2 separate regions of the Homo sapiens genome follow, and region 1 is linked to region 2. The links are contacts of gene promoters, found by promoter capture Hi-C in blood cells and fetal thymus (Javierre and others, 2016). All regions are on one chromosome and are shown on one strand. Each heading gives the region's core, a stretch centred on a gene start or on the middle of the fragment in contact. The rest is flanking DNA. Distances are from core to core; before and after follow the strand shown.

Region 1 (2,700 bases), core at 134-2,633, 140 kb before region 2:
GCAGTTGTATTCCTGGAAATTGTCAGGTGTGTTAAAACCATGCAAAACAATGTCCTGTGTTCATTTGCAAAATGAAATTATGTTCCGAGCCCAGAGACTCCTAAGCAGAATCATGGATGTGTGGCATAAGCTTGAGAGCCATGCAGAGTGCAAAGCTGTGATTGCAGAACATGCCTGCACTTTAAGGGACAGGTCTGGAGCTACTTAATGCTAGTGGCACCCCCACAGTACCCCGACAACTAAAAACCACCCCACACATTTACTGTGCCCTCCTTAAGAGGCGACACCACTTGTGTTGAGAACCATTTGCCAGAGGGAAAGCCGGATTTGGGCTAAGCGAAAATCTCGCCAGTGCCATGTGATGTTTACATACATCGTTTTATTGAATCCTGACAACATTTCTGTGAAGTTTGCTCAGGGAACTAAAGTTCTTAGAAGCTAAGTTGCTGGCCCAAGGTTACCTGGAGAGTCCACAGCAGATTCAGGATTCAAACCCAGGCCCCAGGGAACCTAGGACTCCAGGTAGGACTCCAGGCTTGTCCCACCATGCAGTTCTTCCTTCCTGACTATGCTGGACAGGGGACCCTGGGTTTTTCCCTCCCACGTGGAAAGGGGGTGCTTGCCAGAGAAGGGAGGGGTCATCACTGCTATGGATGTGGCTATTTTGGAGGGACAGGTAGGAGGAGGAGAACCCTCACCAGCCCCTAGATTTAATCCCCAGCTGTCTCTTGGGCCCGTGGCATCTCTTCACAAAGAACCAGGAGGTAGATCCAAGGGGCTCCTCCCCAGGCATGAAATGTTTCCTCTAAGAACTTATGGCTTCTCCACCATCAGGTTTACTCCCAGGAAAGGGACTGATGATGTCACATATAATCTTGGGTATCCAGCCCAGCAGGGATGCAGCCAAGCCACCTGGCACAAAAACTCAATCGGGTTTGAAAGAAAAATCCAAACTTCCATGGGAAGAAAGCCCTCCTTCCACCAGCCCCTCCCTCCGAGCTAAGCTGAACCGTTTTGCACTTGCACTTGGAAGAGTGGCCAGTTGATGAGGGACATTTGAAGCTCTGGAATCAAATGTATCAGTTCAGTTAAAAAAAAAAAAGCGGGAAATAATTTTGATGGTAGGCTACCTTTTGCATAAAAAAAACAGGAGATAATATGTTTGATGATTTACATAACTAATTTGCACTAAGAATCTCTGAGAAAATACTCAAGAAACTAGATGATCTACAGGAGGTGGTGACTAGGCAGATAAGGGCTGTGGTGGGAGAGACTTTTGACCATAAGCCTTTTTATGGTTTTTTTTCTCTCTTTTTAAGCCATGTGAATGTATTACCTCTCCAAAAATATTAAAGTTTTAAAAAGTTTTGGATGCTGAAAAAAAAAATGAATGAAGTTCAACTGAATTCCCCTGCTCCCCTCTTACCCCCTCTCCCCTCTCCATACGTCTCAGATGATGAGGTCACCGTTGGCAAGTTCTACGCCACGTTCCTGATCCAGGAGTACTTCCGGAAGTTCAAGAAGCGCAAAGAGCAGGGCCTTGTGGGCAAGCCCTCCCAGAGGAACGCGCTGTCTCTGCAGGTGAGGGCCTGGGGGCGGGCCCACACTCCAGGAAGGTCCTGGTCATTGCCTCTGACCTCCAGTCAGGGTCCCGGTCCCTCCCCAGCAGGCTGGAGGCCAGGTCCCTGCAGAGGGAACCTTTCAGAGAGCTCCAGACCTTTCCAAAGATGGCTGTGAGAAGGGGGTGATGTGCCCTTCCCTACCTGCCACCCACCGACTGCCCTCCATGGTTCTGCCTGCTGTCATAGCCCCCAGATCTCTCAAATACTTCACTGAGGCTCCCGTGACAGCCCCTGACCCCTGGTGCCCCGTCCTAATGAGCCTTCATCCCTCCTGGATGGGCGAGTGGATTGTTCCATCAGAGGGCAGCCCAGCCCCCAGTTCACACACACACAAACCTTCCGGAGGGTCGACTGGCTGGGTGGAGGATGCCAGGGCCCTGGAGGGACAGGTCTTGGCCCGAGGCTGTGGCTGGCTGGGGAGCTTGGAGGAAAGGGAGCGTGGTCCTCACCATCCTCCCCTTGGATTCCAGGCTGGCTTGCGCACACTGCATGACATCGGGCCTGAGATCCGACGGGCCATCTCTGGAGATCTCACCGCTGAGGAGGAGCTGGACAAGGCCATGAAGGAGGCTGTGTCCGCTGCTTCTGAAGATGACATCTTCAGGGTGGGTGGTGCCATGGCGCACTCTCGACCCCTATAAAGTTCAGTTTGGAGCAAGAGGTTGGGCTGGGGTTTTGCGGGGAACGTCCAGGGGAAGGAGCTGCACCAGAGGAAAGGGCTACTTCCAGGCTCTTCCTGATGAGCTGTCTCCTCACCCCTTTGCCTTTTCCAAGCCTGACTCCATCCCAAGGCAGGGCTCCCTGGAAACAGCAGCTCTCAGTGTCACTGGCTCTCAGAGAAGCGGGAAGGAACCGCCTTCCTAAGGGAAATGTTTCCTAGGAGAAACTTCTGCATTAGAAGTTGCAGAGTGGTCACCCCTGGGGCACATCTAATCTGCAGGCTTGTTTTGTTTGTTAATATTTGAAAATCAAGACTTCTGGCATTCTTTGGAAAAGTCAGGAGACCTGGTAATATTAAGCTTGCATTCCCACAGGGCAGCAGAGGGCCGGAGCCTAGAGGCGGTGGCCCTTTGAGATG
Region 2 (2,700 bases), core at 201-2,700:
GAGAATGGCTTGAGCCCGGGAGGCGGAGCTTGCAGCGAGCCGAGATCGCACCACTGCACTCCAGCCTGGGTGACAGAGCGAGACTCCGTCTCAAAAAAAAAAAAAATTAAATTAAATTAAATTAAAAATTAGCTGGGCGTGGTGGCGCTCGCCTGTAGTCTCAGCTACTCGGGAGGCTGAGGCAGGAGAACTGCTTGAACCTGGGAGGCAGAGGTTGCAGTGAGCCGAGATTGCGCCACTGCACTACAGCCTGGGCAACAGAGCGAGACTCTGTCTCAAAAAAAAATAAAAATAAAAATAAAAAAAAAAAAGATAAAAAGGAACAGCCCCTGGTCCAAAATCCCAGATAAGGTAGAATCATTTTTTTTTTTTTTTTGAAACACCAAGTGCGAGTCAGCCTGGGTTTTTAGACCTAAATCTAAAAATGTATTGAACACCTGTATGATTTCATAAATATTGCCCTGATTGACGAGGCACCCCAAAGAAAGGCAGAACTGGATTCAACATGGAAAGAAAGTATCCCAAGAAGCCAGCCATGAGAGTGACAGTCCCATCTGTGCTACAAGAGTAAGGCTACTGAGGTTGAGATGCAAGAGCTTTGTGCTGGGGGGCCACAAGACAGAGCAGATCCGGAATCCAGGCAACCTTCACTTCCAGCCTGAAGACTCTCCTACGAACTATGATAGTAAATGATGGAGAGGCCCTAGGGTTTGGGATCAAACAATTCTGGTTTGAGCACGCACCCCGCCCCACAATCCTTCCTTCTGCCATTTTACTTAATCTTGCTGAACCTGTTTTCCTCAGCCAAAAAAAAAAAAAGCTCGCATAGTGGCTGAACTAATTATGTGAAATATGTGAAATGTGCTTTGCAGCAGGTGGCTTTTAAACTATTGACCAGAAAACACATACACTGAAAAAAAAAATTTTTTTTACATTATAAGCCAGTATACACATATAAGTATATACAATTGAAACAAGAGTTTCACAAAAACTGTACTTACCTTACTACCTGGGAGTCACTTGGTATATTACTATTGTATTTAATTTTTTATATGCTGATTGCAACTCACTACATTGTTTTCACTCCTAATGGGTAGTTTTTTAAAAACACTTTTCAAAACCATGCAATTATCAGTTATTACGAAGATTAGTAAGATTCTCAGGAATGGTCTGATGGCTAGGAATCTTCATTGCCAGGGAAACAAAGGAAAAAGGTCAAGGTTATTAGGTCAAGCCCTTGGGAGCCCTGTTGCCAAGGGAACAGATCGACCCCCGTCAGGGTTGGTTTACCCACGGTCTGCAGCCCTGTGGAGAAAAGGAGTGGCCCGTGGGCCTGTCACTCACATCAGAGTTGGGAAGCCCGCCTCCAAGCCCGGAAGACCCGCCTCCTCTGTAAGGTTAAAGGAGGAAGAGGCAGAGATTGGAGGTTCAGGCAGTGACGTAACTTGCTGCCTTAGGTGGCCTTCCGCTCTGGCGGCTGTCGCGACGGGGGTTCAGGGAATATTTACTGGGCCTCTCCGCTCCCTCTGCTCTTGGAGGTGCCATGAGGTCAGTTAGCTACGTGCAGCGCGTGGCGCTGGAGTTCAGCGGGAGCCTCTTCCCGCACGCAATCTGCCTCGGAGACGTTGATAACGATACGGTAGGTGCATGCGCACCGCAAGAGACAGCCTGGATCTGTGCAGGGACGGGGCAAGGGAAGTGGAAGAGGCCGCCCGAGCGTGCCACGTGAGCGTGAGCATGCGCGCTGTGGCTAGTTTGGAGCGCTAGAGAGAAAAACTTTATTGATAGCTTCAGTGTTCGTGGTTGGTTTTGTTCCTTGGGAGGTTTTGTTTGTTTTTTGAGACAGGCTCCGTCTGTCACCCAGGCTGGAGTGCAGTGGCTTGATTTCGGCTCACCGCAACCTCTGCCTCCCGGGCTCGAGCGATTCTCCTACCTCAGCCTCCCAAGGGGCTGGGATTACAGGCGCCCGCCACCACGCCCGACTAATTTTTGTGTTTTTAGTAGAGGTGGGGTTTCACCATGTTGGCCCAAAGTGCTGGGACTACAGGCCTGAGCCATCGTGCCCAGCCCTTCTCGTTTTTTAAATAAATTACCACAGGTCAAGCAGGTAAAACAATGCCTGGCACACAGTTTAGTGCTCACTTAAGTGTTAGTGGTGGTGGTGGTGGTGTTAGTATTTTATTCTGTTTTTCTGCAAATCTTTACTGAACTGCTCATTATGCACCAAGGACTCTGCTACATTCTAGGAATTCAAAAATGAACGAGAGAGTTCCAGTCCTCAGATAGCTCATAATCAAGCTGTGTAATAGTCACCGGATAATAAAATGTAATGAGATGCATTGACTAAAGTATGGAGAGGATTCTCCGGTGGAGCATTAAAGGGAATAGTGTCTGATGCTCTTTTTTTTGCAGACTTTATCTTTTCATTTATCATCTATTTCATAGTTCTAATGCAAAGCACTGTATTGCCCCCTTCTACCCTCTGCCCTATCTTCCTACTCGGCCTCCCTGCTTCACAGTTCCTTAACTGTCCTGTACTTATTTCCCACCGCCCCCTAGTGCTGTGATGCAGAAGGTATCTTATGAGGCCTTTTTTGGCTCTACCCTCTCTGGGGAGGAAAGAGTTATTCTCATAAATTTGTGTTATGTTTTCTGGGCTTTCGTGTTTCTTCATGAACTGCCAAGCAGTCCAATTTTATG

What was found. The method cuts DNA at HindIII sites, captures the fragments that hold promoters and counts their contacts. A CHiCAGO score of 5 or more calls a contact.
Region 1: a contact is called between a fragment that was not itself captured here and the fragment with the promoter of ITFG2 in region 2, in 6 of 17 cell types (naive CD8 T cells, naive CD4 T cells, fetal thymus and 3 more). The highest score is 6.3, in naive CD8 T cells.

What each region holds. Positions count from the first base shown.
Region 1 is chr12:2,675,641-2,678,340 of GRCh38, forward strand. CACNA1C (calcium voltage-gated channel subunit alpha1 C) reads left to right here. Exons shown (of 47, transcript NM_000719.7): 40 at 1,454-1,581; 41 at 2,093-2,227. It overlaps CACNA1C-AS1 (CACNA1C antisense RNA 1), which reads right to left. Exons shown (of 4, transcript NR_045725.1): 4 at 361-2,257. Among named protein-coding and RNA genes, the nearest start is that of CACNA1C-AS2, 4.8 kb to the left of the region's middle. RefSeq lists an enhancer at 1,397-1,898. The HindIII fragment of the contact is 2,511 bases long and covers 129-2,639 here.
Region 2 is chr12:2,811,218-2,813,917 of GRCh38, forward strand. It overlaps ITFG2 (integrin alpha FG-GAP repeat containing 2), which reads left to right and starts at 1,451. Exons shown (of 12, transcript NM_018463.4): 1 at 1,451-1,639. The coding sequence starts at 1,544. ITFG2-AS1 (ITFG2 antisense RNA 1) reads right to left here and starts at 1,707. Exons shown (of 4, transcript NR_146317.1): 1 at 1,345-1,707. RefSeq lists enhancers at 998-1,747, 1,478-1,727 and a silencer at 1,278-1,367. The HindIII fragment of the contact is 13,075 bases long and covers 1-2,700 here.